Linked DNA regions of Homo sapiens: regions 2, 3 and 4 are each linked to region 1. Evidence: promoter capture Hi-C in 16 types of primary human blood cells and fetal thymus (Javierre and others, 2016). All regions are on one chromosome and are shown on one strand. The core of a region is centred on a gene start or on the middle of the fragment in contact, and the rest is flanking DNA. Distances in the headings are between cores, read along the strand shown.

What was found. The method cuts DNA at HindIII sites, captures the fragments that hold promoters and counts their contacts. A CHiCAGO score of 5 or more calls a contact.
Region 2: a contact is called between a fragment that was not itself captured here and the fragment with the promoter of CCDC150 in region 1, in 1 of 17 cell types (fetal thymus). The highest score is 6.1, in fetal thymus.
Region 3: a contact is called between a fragment that was not itself captured here and the fragment with the promoter of CCDC150 in region 1, in 8 of 17 cell types (total B cells, monocytes, total CD4 T cells and 5 more). The highest score is 9.3, in total B cells.
Region 4: a contact is called between the fragment with the promoter of MOB4 here and the fragment with the promoter of CCDC150 in region 1, in 1 of 17 cell types (total B cells). The highest score is 6.2, in total B cells.

Annotation. Positions count from the first base shown.
Region 1 is chr2:196,638,355-196,641,242 of GRCh38, forward strand. It overlaps CCDC150 (coiled-coil domain containing 150), which reads left to right and starts at 1,361. Exons shown (of 28, transcript NM_001080539.2): 1 at 1,361-1,424. The coding sequence starts at 1,413. LOC105373823 (a long non-coding RNA gene) reads right to left here and starts at 1,331. Exons shown (of 2, transcript XR_923747.3): 1 at 1,042-1,331; 2 at 74-213. RefSeq lists enhancers at 873-1,092, 1,113-1,162, 1,147-1,684, 1,685-2,222. The HindIII fragment of the contact is 4,677 bases long and covers 154-2,888 here.
Region 2 is chr2:195,654,687-195,657,723 of GRCh38, forward strand. SLC39A10 (solute carrier family 39 member 10) reads left to right here and starts at 2,540. Exons shown (of 10, transcript NM_020342.3): 1 at 2,540-2,595. RefSeq lists silencers at 2,809-2,858, 2,889-3,008. The HindIII fragment of the contact is 1,255 bases long and covers 821-2,075 here.
Region 3 is chr2:196,071,871-196,074,968 of GRCh38, forward strand. No RefSeq gene overlaps it. Among named protein-coding and RNA genes, the nearest start is that of DNAH7, 4.6 kb to the left of the region's middle. The HindIII fragment of the contact is 2,282 bases long and covers 660-2,941 here.
Region 4 is chr2:197,514,623-197,517,661 of GRCh38, forward strand. It overlaps MOB4 (MOB family member 4, phocein), which reads left to right and starts at 1,444. Exons shown (of 8, transcript NM_015387.5): 1 at 1,444-1,524. The coding sequence starts at 1,465. All of the region lies in intron 2 of HSPE1-MOB4 (HSPE1-MOB4 readthrough), which reads left to right. RefSeq lists a silencer at 1,283-1,502. The HindIII fragment of the contact is 18,120 bases long and covers 1-3,039 here.

The DNA of each region.
Region 1 (2,888 bases), core at 111-2,610:
GGTCATTGCAAGATAAAACATACATAATGAAAATAATTGGCTGTTTGCACTGACGCTTTAAAATACATTTTCATTTCCTATTAAAAGCTTTATTTGGTCCCTTTCTCTGAATAATGTATGCAGTGCTCATTTCTCTTCACCGGATCGGCTCAAAGCTTGATGAATATGGCTGTGGTTTGATGGGCAGTCTCTGCATCTCACATTGAGGCTCCGCTATGAAAAGAATTAGAATAGCAAGATCAATTGTCAGGCTAAGTAAATGAGCTCTCATCTCGGATCTGATTGCTTATATGAGAGGGCTGAAGTGATTCTTGGCTGCACTCTCAGGGAGAAGAGAGAAATGCATTTTAATTGCCCTGGCAGGGATAACAGGTGTTCTGTCCAGCTACCAAAACGCAAAGCCGCGTCTTTGCACTATAGAAGGCTTTCCCTTAAGTGAGAATACATATTCTTAAAGCAAAACAACTCAGAAACGCTGGTGTGGTGATGCACGCCTGTAATCCCAGGACTTTGGGAGGCCGAGGTGGGCGGATGGCTCGAGCCCAAAGAGACCAGCCTGAGCAATATGGTGATGACCCCGCCTCCACGAAAAAATACAAAAATTAGCCAGACGTGGTGGCGCGCGCCTGTGGTCCCAGATACTGGGGAGGCTGAGATGGGAGGATCGCTTGAGCTCGGGAGGTCGAGGCTGCAGTGAGTCGAGATCGCACCACCGTAATCCACCCTTGGCGACAGAGGAAGACCCTATCTCAAAAAAGCAAACCACCAAAAAAACCAGGGACAGCTCAATGCTCTTTTCCGTTTCATAGCTACTTACACTCAGATTTACAAATACCTATTAACTTGTAGACAGGGCAAGAAATAATTTATGCTGAAGAGACGAAAGACCTGAAAACAGATTTCTGTGTTTTACTCTCCATGTGGCCATCATGGACGAGGACGAAGAGGGACTTGATTTTTCCTTTAACGAGAAGAATGTTTAAGCTCTGAATTTTTAACCAATTTTTATGCTCGTTACTCTGCTGTAGGGTATGTATTTACCAAGATTAGCAGAACACCGCGAGTTCACCAGGCGGAGACAAGTCACTGTGAAGTGGGCAGCACAGGACCCCCCGGAGGGCAGGCGCCGGAAACTACATATCCCGGCGTGCCCCGCTCGCGAGCACAGTGGAGCCTGCCGCCATTCGGTTCACGGCGCTACGCATTCCCTGAGCGCCGCCGGATGCCGGCCTGGGTCCCGCCCAGGGCTGAGGGCCCTCCTGGGCCGGGAAAACTACAGTTCCCGACATGCCCTGCCACGGGTGCGCCTGCGTACCGGAGCTACTGCGCCGGGGAGCGGGTTGGTTTAAAATGCTGTGTTAGTTCCACGGAAACCCGCTCGCCTGCTGCAGTACGGAGCCTCAGGCGGACAGATGGACTGTAAGGTGAGGCTGCCGGGCCCCGGGCTGGTGAGGGGTGGTCGGAGGCTCGCGAGGCTTCGGCTCAGATAAGGACAGTCACCACTCCCTGGCGCCCTCTCCCTGTCCTGACGGAGTCCAGTCTCACTCCCTGGACCTCAGGGCCCTGATTTAAGGCGCTTTGGCGTTGGCTGCCGGTGAAAGCCATTTAGGAGCGAAGTTTGCATTGGCCTGGCTCCAGCTGAGGGATGGGAGATAGCCACCGAAGCCTCCAGATAAGCCCAATACCACCTTTATTTATGTGTTAAGTTGGAGTTTAATAGGTTCCTGGGAAGGCTATTTCGGCGTTAATGTTTGATTTTTGCCACCAGTTAATCCTCCCTGGCTTGCTTACCAGAATATAGGTGTCAGGAATTTGCACTTGTTCTTTACGGTTTCCGCAGTACCTGGCGCTCTTGCTAGAACGGAATAGACATTCGTTAAATTCCTGTCGAAGTATTCTCCTGTTTATTTACCACCTATAATTTCCCAGGCACTGTATTAGGCTCTAAAGATAGAAAAATGTCTATTTTTAACCCCACTTTAGAGAAGTTCGTATTAGTCCGTCTTAAATGCCCCCCAACACATGCTTCTAATTTGTTAATCTTGGCGTGCTCAGGACTAGGTCCTTTAATCCTTTGTGTTCTCTGTTATCCCGCCTTATGGTTTTCTTGAGCTCTTCAGAAATTAGTCTCCAGTCCACACCTCACCCCCAAACTTCAGATCCACAAATTCAATAATGTATTTGGTATCTTTCATGTTTTAAATTTGACATTTTAAAAACTACTCTTTATCTTTTCCACAAAACGGATTCTTCCTTAATAAGTTTGCATTGTCTCAGTGATAGCACCATCCAGGCCAAAAACCCTGTAGTAATCTTGGCTTCTTCCTTTCCCTCATATCTCATATCTAATGCATCAGCAAAAGCTATCTTTCAAGTATATCTAACCACTAACCACTTCTTACAGTAGGAATACCGCTGCTGTCACCTTGGTTCTGGCCAGCAGCATCTCTACTTCTGCTTTTGTTCTTCCACCATTTGGAGTGGGAGGGAGTCAAAATGATCCAGTTAAAAGGAAAGTTGGATAGCATTCCTCAGCTATAGACCTCCAGTGACTCTGAGAATCACTGACAGCAAAAGCCAGACTTCTACAATGGCCTTCAAGGCTCTGTGTATTCTGTTTTTTGTTTTTTTGAAACGGAGTCTCGCTCTGTCGCCCAGGCTGGAGTGCAGCAGTCTCAGCTCACTGCAAGCTCCGCCTCCTGGGTTCACACCATTCTCCTGCCTCAGCCATCCGAGTAGCTGAAACTACAGGAGCACGCCACCACGCCCGGCTAATTTTTTTTTTATTTTTATTTTTGTATTTTTAGTGAGACGGGGTTTCGCCGTGTTAGCCAGGATGGTCTCGATCTCCTGACCTCTTGATCTGCCCGCCTCGGCCTTCCAAAGTG
Region 2 (3,037 bases), core at 198-2,697, 980 kb before region 1:
TACACTTTCAGAAAGTTTTATGATTATAACATATTAGAAAGTCTTTACCCTAACATATTTCTTATATATAAAACTGGTAAAGATAAAATGAAATTCATATATTGTTGCTGTAGTGTCCATTATTTGACTCAGCAGGTGATTTTGTGTAAGCCTGCAAGTCATTTTCTGAGATTCCTTTTCTCAGTAGGAAAAGTAATATGCTAGTATGCAGAGAATCATTTATTCTATCTGATAATTTTGCTTGAAAATCTGCCCAAATCAGTGTGTATACACTTGAAAGTAAATAAATGTTTGGGTGAGTTTAAAAAGTGTTAGGAGACACAGTCTCTATTTTCAAGTTGCTTACCACATAGTTTTCTATAGGGATGACATTTAAAATATGTAACAATTAGTAAAGAATAGGCACCAACCAAGTAGAATGGGAGTGACTAATAAGAGCTGGGTCCAAAGGGCTCTATCTTAGCCAGGTATTAACCCACTAGTTCCTAAAATGTGGAGGTCTGGGGAATCTTGAGAGGAAGGACTGGCACAGGGGTGAGAAGCATGGGGGGATACCACTCAGAGTTGCAGCTGTTAACCAACTTGCATTGAAGTATTTCAGTATTTGATTAGTTGGTTCAGCCGTACTTGTGTGTACCAGCTGAACATTAGCCTTGTATATCCATAACTAAAAAAGCAGTGTAGGTGCCCTAAAATGTAAGGACTGCAAGCGCTATATCTTATTGATATTTGAAAGAAAGGTTATGTATGTTTTAAGGGTGTTGATAATAATGTGTTCAATAAAATAAGTATGAGCCATAAAATATCAAGCTAATTTGGAAGCTTCTTATGCTTTGCACACAAAGGATGTACTATCATGATTTTATGAACTCTAAGGACTTTAGTTCTAGGATGAACCTTAGAATATATTTAAAACGATCCCCTTAATTTATCAATGAATCTGAGGACCACAGCTATTGTCTCACATTTAGTGGCAATGGTGAGACTTGAAACTAGGACTCAGGCTTAATCTCTTTTCTCCACACCTCAGGACTTCTCCCTTTGTAAGCAGGAGTGAGGTCCATGCTCTGGCTTTCCAAACAAGGAAAAGGGCATATGAGTAGTTCAGTGTTCTGAACTACGTATGGCAATCAGTAGGCATTTATCAAGCACCATTTTCGTTGTTTTGGATGTTTTTTGTAGAGATACAAAACAAAAAATAACCTTCTTTCATGAAGGTATAATATGCAGGTTAGCGGGACTACCTAGCCGTCCATACTGAATGGGTTTGGAAATCCCAACTCTTTTCTCTACCTGCTCTGTGATACCAGGCAAGTTAAAGTCTTGTGTGCCTCAGTTTCCTACCTCACCGTGTTATGGTGATTAAATTAATATATATGTGGAGTACTTGACACACAGTCAAGCCTGCGATTACTGCTGTTCATGGTTTTATTTTCTCTACTAGACACCAGTAAGGCACCCCCAGAACTCGCTGTGTTAAGTAGATTCTGGTTGGATATAGAAACACAGGCACCCCAGGCGGAATGCAGATACGCCTCAACATGTGGATTAAGTAAGAGCCAGGAAGCAGAGTAATGAAGCAAAAATAAGACGTCCAGAGTCACCTTTTAAGAAAATGTGGGTTGGTGGTTGCTTAAGAGGGGAGGAGACAATTTAGATGGGATGTATGGCGTGAGCAAAGGGCAAGAATGAGCACGGTGTAGGCACAAGTCCATGGAACTGCTTGGCTGGATCGGGATTTTTTTGTCATAGAGTGTTAAGAAATAGTCGATCAGTTGAGGAGTAGAGGAGTGAAGACCTTGGAAAGTTGCCAAAAGCCTCGAGAATTTCTCTACATGTGTGACATGTTCTCAGGACTCAACTTTTTCTTTTAGGTTTGGAAGACCCGCAGTAAGTGTGCTTTAGAATTAAATGGGTGGGAAGGGGAGCTAGGCAAAACACCTCGCACTTAGCACTAAATAAAGTTCGCTGTTGCCCTAAGAGACTGAAAAGGTTACTTTAACAAAGGGGGCGGGGTTAACTTAACGTAGATGTTTAACTCGTATACAGATGAACATTCCAGTTGATCACTCTGAAGCTTTTTGGCTAAAGCGTTTGGGTTTAGAGCTTCCATTACTCATTCGCCTTGCCCAAGGCCTCAGCAACCGACGTTCGAAAGCCAGGAGAAAAGGCGAATGATAAAGGGCGCTCCACGCATGCGTTAAGAAGCCGCCCCAACTCCCCCGCGGCGTTCTTTCTTGGAACAAAACTAGCGCGGAGCCACGGAACTCCGCAGTTTGCGTAGACTTGAATTTCCTATTCCTCGGACGATCCATGTGGAATCCGTGAGTAGTGCGACTCCTTTACGCAACTGGCGTTATCCGAAGTGAATAGCTAGGTGGCGCGTGTACGCCCATAGCGTAGCACCCATAGGCGGACGGGGTGCGGCTGCGCAGGGAGCTGAGTGGACCTTGTACGCCGCAAGCGTAGCAGGGTGTCAGACGCGCCGGTTTCTGCGACGCAGTTAGCGCAGTCTGCTTTGGTGAATACACGATTTGGTGCAGCCGGGGTTTGGTACCGAGCGGAGAGGAGATGCACACGGCACTCGAGTGTGAGGTAACTATAAAACCCCGATTTGTTTACATTCCCTCCCCCAGAACCGGCCCCGTGCGCGGCGGAGACTGCGAGTCCCGGGACGGCGTGGGGGTAGAAAGGGAGAACAGAACCGGGGAGTCGGGGCTGGTTCCCTCGGGGATGCGGGCGCTGGGGTTCCCGCAGCTGCTGCAGTCGGCGGCGGCCAGCCGAAGCAGAGCGCGTGGTGGGCAGAGTGTTGGGCGCCGCGGCTCCTCGTGTGCGGTCTGGGCTGCTGCGGGCCGCGGGATCGGGAGCCGGCGGCATCCACTTCGCGTGCGGAGCCTCGCGCCCCCCTCACCTTCCTGTGGAGGTTGGCGGAGCCTCGCGGGCCGCGCCCGGGGTGGGGGAGTGACCGCTGGGCGGGTGGCGGCGGTTAGGGGGCTGCGCGCCGGCCGCGGATGGCGTCGCAGGCGCGGGCGGGCGA
Region 3 (3,098 bases), core at 551-3,050, 570 kb before region 1:
GACATCTGAATCCATGAGCATACATGAAATGGTTCAAGGAGTATGTAGGGACAGAACGGAAAGGAACCTAGTAAAGAAAAAACTAAAACCTAAACACTACCAATCTTTATGAATTGGATAGAGGGGGATCCTGCAAAGAAAATCGAGAAAAAGTAGCTAGATATAACAGGGAACTCAGAATATAGAATCATAGAAACAAAGAAAAACAATATTTCAGGAAAAAGAATATAGAGAACAGTATCAAAAGCTTCTGACAATATGTAATCTAAGGATTTAAAAGTATCCATTGGATAGAGTGCCAAGGAAGTCATTGGTGAACATGGCAAAGGAGTTTCAGTACAATGCAGTGGGAGGATTTGGGGCCAGATTCCAGAGGCTGAAGAGTGAAAGGAGGGAGACTGCCAGAATAGACAATCTTCAGAAAGTTTAGGTTATGAATAAGAGAGATAGACTGGGGACTGAATGGATTCAGGGAGAGAGGCACTATATTTTTTCAAATAGGAAAGTTTTGTTTGTGTTTAAATGCAAATAGGAAAGGAGAAGATGAAGATAGAGGAAAAAGTAAAAGGAGATAGGATTAATTTCAGATGGAGAGATCTTATAAGCACGCCTTGTAAAAGGAAGAAGAAGGAAGGATGAGTGGAAATGTGGGTGTTTAAAGCTTGCTTGTGTGTAGTTGGGGACATCCCCCCCCAAAAAAAATGAATTTTATTTTTTCTGTGGTATAGAAAGCAAAATCACCTTTCAAGAACGAGAAGAAAGGTAGGAGGCAGGGGATGGTCAAAAATTTGAGGAGGAAGAAGTTTCAATGACTATGTGGCAGAAATGGAGAGAGAACAAAAGTGATTAAAGAAATAGAGGAAAAGCTCAGCTGAAGTTGAAGCCTCTGAATCAGCGCCAGCCACTATCCACTTGGCTCTGCACCACTCTCCAAAGGTCTTCAACAGACCAGACTTAGGTTCAGAGAAGACAAACACACAGTGTCTTTCCCAGGCTGGTATAACAGGAGAACAGAGCATGAGAATAGAGAATCTGATAAGAGTGAAGTTGAAATAAAAAATCACAGAAACTAAAATAATGAGTAGAGGAAGAAAGGACTGTTAACTGTGGAGAAAGGGAATGGGATGGAGAGGGTCTCAGAAAGGGTGACATAGTGAGAGAAACTAACTCTCAAAACACAAAGTGAAGCAGTGAGGGTATTGTCTCTGTGATTTCAGAAGTAGAGCTATTCCAGGTGTTGAGAATGTCCCCAGTGTGGCCACAGAAGTGGGGACTGAAGTAAAGGACTTTGCCATGGAAGGTCAAGGAACTAAGTTCCTCAAGCTATGGCTGTTCGCATGGATGCTGAAGTAGCATAGCGTAGGGGAGAACTGTGAGCCGATGTCTTCAACGAATGAAGCTGAGTCAAGGAGAGGAGATGCTATGAGCCTAAGATTAGTAAGAATTCATAGTGGAAAACAGAAGATAAATGTTGCAGACCCCATATCCCAAACTTGGAAGAATGGAAAAGCCTAAACAGAAATAGGCTTGAGGGAGAGACAAATTTCATTAAAGACCTGGAGATAAGAATAGAGTTCTCAGAATGGGTTGAAGATGTAGTTTTGTTTCATAGCCTAAGGGTACAGTGATAAGCGTTGAAAGTCAGTAAAGTACTAGGGGGTTCAGTCAGCCAATTAGAAGCAAAAAGCACTTAAGAAAAAAAAGATTGCCTCAAGGGTTTACTCCACAGGCAATAACCAACAGATATAAAGGTGTACTACGTTTAGCAGCTGCCAACCTGATGCCAAAAGAACTAGTCCCAGCAGTTCCGAGGTGTTTAGAAGGAGTTTCAGATTCTTGGCAAAAGTTCAAGGTTAACTGGATTGCTTCATGGAGGGTCATAGTCCACATGAGCAGGCCAGGAGACACTGAGGGATTCACAGCAACAGCATGAGACACAGATGAGCCTAAAAACATTAGCCATCCACCTTCCACTCTTTACCATCTGCCAGCTTTCCTTCTTCAATCCTCTGCTATCTCACTGTCCATTCACCTTCAATCTCAAAAGCCATCGTTGAAATCTACAAACATCAGGCTATTCTGACTTGCTACATTGCCTCCACTAGGCCACCATATATAGCTGGAGTCAACCTCTATTTTCAGGTCAACCCTGGAGTCAACCTCTGATTTGCAGAATCCTGTTTCTAAATTTGTCTTTGGGTGGGTATCTTGCCAGAATTATGGAAGGAAAGTAATTTTTTAAAAATTGGCAAGGACAATTCCTTTGTATTTGTCAGTTATCGTGATCCCTGTCAAGCAAGAGGAATGTGGCTTTCAGCACTGACTTCTTAGAGTAATTCTCACAATAATCAGTAATGTCACCAATTATACTGAATGCTGAGATGGGAGAAATAAGCTAGCTAATCTCTGTCCCCACTGTTCAGGTTAAGACCAGCGCAAAATCCTGATAAGAATCAATACAGTTCTCAAAATATTCTGAATGAAGTTTTTGTTTAGACATGTTGGACCACTGTATCTCACAAATTATAAAAAGGAACTTTATCAATCTTGTCATTTGTCTCTTGAAAGATCCTCTTTTGCACTTAGTGCTTGATTTGGGTAAAGCTGTCTGTATGCTTTTGGTTTACTAATCTATAAATATGGAAGTCCATTTTAAAAGAAGGTATCTGGGGACTAAAACTGGTTCCTCCATTTAACCAAATATGAAAGACCAAATAAAGAAAAGAAATTGAATTACTGATATTTTGGTTCCCTGAGCTTGAACTTCAGTTACATTTATGATCTTGTGTTTTCTCTTATGGTTTGGATGTTTTTTGCTAAAATGATTTTATTAGACATGAACCAAATGTTTGCTTAGGAATTTTATGCCCAAACTTGTGCTGATTCTAAGGGAATTTTTTACAAGACTATGTTTTTTTTTTCCCTTAAAATATATTGTGTAAGCTTATGCAGCTGCTGAGTTCTGACTTTTTATGTTGTTATTTGTTACTACTTTTTTTTTTTTTTTTTTACCTCCTGCTTTTGAAACTGTAGCATGTGTGGAAGGAAGCAAGGAGTGCTAGAGCTTATTTTACATCCTCCTTTGAGGCAGTGTGGCA
Region 4 (3,039 bases), core at 194-2,693, 880 kb after region 1:
CCATCCCCAAGAAATCTCATTATGTATATGCAAATATTCTAAAATCCAAAATAATCAGAAATCTGAAAGTGTTTTGGTCCCAAACTTTAAGATGAGGGGTACTTAACCTGTATAAGAATTTGTGATTTGCACGTCTCTGTTGCTGGAGTCAAGGCAATTTGTAGTGAAGGACTGAGCCTTATCATACTTGTACATTAGTGCCTACCATATAGTGGGGCTTAATGAGTATCTGTTGAACGAATAATCTTTTCATATGTAGACGCTGGTTCTGGGAGGGCAAAATTAAGTCCCTATTCTTGAAGAGTTACCAGTCAATACATCTTCCAGAGAGAACCAACTTCCTGTTGTTAAACCCTTCAATGCCTAGTTCTAAGTCACTGACAATTACTCAGCTAGAGACCCACTCAACCTCTCCTCTCCTCTCAAATTCCATTTCTGGAAGCTGTTACATGGCCCTTCCCTCAGCATTCTCAATACACCTTCTATCTAGGGACACTTGATGTTTTCTTCTTTTGGAAATCATGCTACTGTATGCGTTTTTTACTTTTTGAACTGTCTTCCCATCTGCTATCCCAAGGCCTCCCTCACCCCAGATAAAAGATTCAAGGTTTCTAAGCAGGAAAAAAAGTTTGCGAAAATGCTGTGGTTTCTTAAGAGAGAACACTTAAAATTTGCAACAAAGGAAATGTGGAATCCTGTAAGATGTAAAACCCTCACCACCTGTCAAGGACTACTAATTTCCTCCTCCTGCTTCTGACTTGAAAAACACGAGCTAAATCTGTCTGCCTAACGCACAAAACCAGATGTCCACTCTTCATCTCACATAATTGACATCTGCGTCTTTTATCTACGTAAACAAACTTGTCATTGAAAAAGTCCTTGGCTTTGAAGTCGCCGGATGGCGTAAATAACACTGACACTCAAATCCCCCGTCTGATTTCAGATTGGGTCGATTTCACGCAGGTTCTATAGAATTTGCCAAGACTGCTGGCCTGTTTTCTACCCTGATTCCTTAGGTGGCTTCTGGGACAGAATTACGGTTCTCTAAGTATTTGCTTGCAGGTGGGTTTACTGAAACGGTCGCCACTATACGAAGTTCGTTCTTCCCGTGTAACTAACGAGAGCCCATACCAACGTGCAACGCAGCCGTGCACACTGCCGCAGCGGTCGCTGCGATCACGACCTTTCAAACCGCCCCGCAGCCCTCGCAAAGAGGCTCGTGGCGCCCGCCTTCCGGTGCCTCAGTCCCTGCCAGTAGCCACCCGACGCCGTCCGGCTGTTCCTCGTTCGCCCTCTCCCTCCGCCTAGCCCGCTTCTACCCGGACGGCTCCCGGCGCAGGCTGCAGCTGTTCCGTCAGCTGCCGCTCCTCCTCCCAGACGCAGAGCGCCGCTCTGCCCCGCCCCCCGCGCAGGCTGCCGTCCCTACATCCGGGTACCGACTCCAGCCGCCTAGACGCTGGCACTATGGTCATGGCGGAGGGGACGGCAGTGCTGAGGCGGAACAGGCCGGGCACCAAGGCGCAGGTACCATGTCTGCACTTTTCTTGTCGGGCAACTAGGTGCCGAGCAGTGCTGCGCCCGGAAGCTGGCCGCCACTGCGGGGAGGTTGGGCCGAGGCGGCAGGCGGGCGGGCTGGGGCACTGGTGCCCGGCCTGCTCTTCCGGAGCTGCAGCCCCTCAATTTGGCTGAGGCGGTGGCGGCCGCCGTGAGGCCTGCGGAGCTCCGACCCAGGGGTAGGCGTGAGGGGCGGGTGGGGTCTGCTGGTGGTACCTGCCTGCCGAAGCCCTGGGCTGCGAGCCTGTCAGCAGCAACGGCTTCTTCTCGCCTTGCCCCTGAGCCCCAGCTGACTAGCATTGGAGGGGCGCGACCAGCCTGGTGGAGACCCCCGGGGTTTCCTGAAGGTCGGGGCCGCTGAGGTGGGAGGGGGTGTAAACACAGCCTACCTCGACCCGGCGTCCAGTTCCTACCTGGCCTGGGAAGTACCTACCCGTTTCCTGCCATCCAGCTTGTCTAGCCGGATCCGGGTGCCGATATTCTCCTCCTTGTTTCCCTTTGACCACCTCTCCCTGCCGCTTTCCCTGGAGCTGTTCTCTGGTCCAGCAAGTTTTCATCACTAAGTTGTGACTTGTTAGATGTCATTCCTTGCTAATATGCGTGAAGCATAGTCAGAGAATGAACTGATTATAATTTTGTCAGCTTTTTTGTAGGGCATTATGTGTGGTAAATTGGTGCTTGATTAGGCATTGTTTCTTAGGGTTTGGAAAAGATGGGATGCCTCACATTAAAAATAAATAAATAAAATTGGCATCCAGACTTGAACTGATTAATTGCTAGCCGAAATGGCTTGCTATAGACTAGATGCTCTGAAATCGGAAGAGATGTGTTTATAAAATGTTAAAAAGTGATGCAAATGAAAATTGAAACAAAACAATCGTGGAGCTATGATTGTATGTCTGAGAATAGATTTTAATTTCTTATACAGAATTATGGAAAGAACACCTTTCGAAGGGGGCATACAGGTATTGATTACCTCCCCAGATTCATGTTACAGATAAGGAAACTGAAGCCCAAGAGAATTAAGTGGATTTGCCCAAGGATACATAGTCTCCTGATTCTTAATTCACTGGTGACCTGTTCTCTTTAACAAGCTGCTTCTAGTGCTGAATTTCAGAGAAAATTTTAAAGTCTTATTTTGGAGTCACATTAAGCTGTCAGTTATTCCTACTGACAGTTTTGTTTTCATACTACTGGAAATTTATCCGTTACATATGCTTGCTTTTTACCGTTTCCACACTTTTCTTCCTCATGCTCTTTTCTCAGATACCTTTACATCTTATTCTGTGGAAACATTGTTTCTGATTACATTTTTATGTTCAGAAGTAGACTTTTCTGTTCATATTCTGAGAGTCATCTCATTTATTCATAAGTTCTTAATTTTGAAAGGTTAGAAAATAAAATATTTAATATCGTAACATACTTGCTATGTTGCTGTAAGTCACATAGAAGAAAACTTATTGTCTTTTTTTTTCACATTGTCAT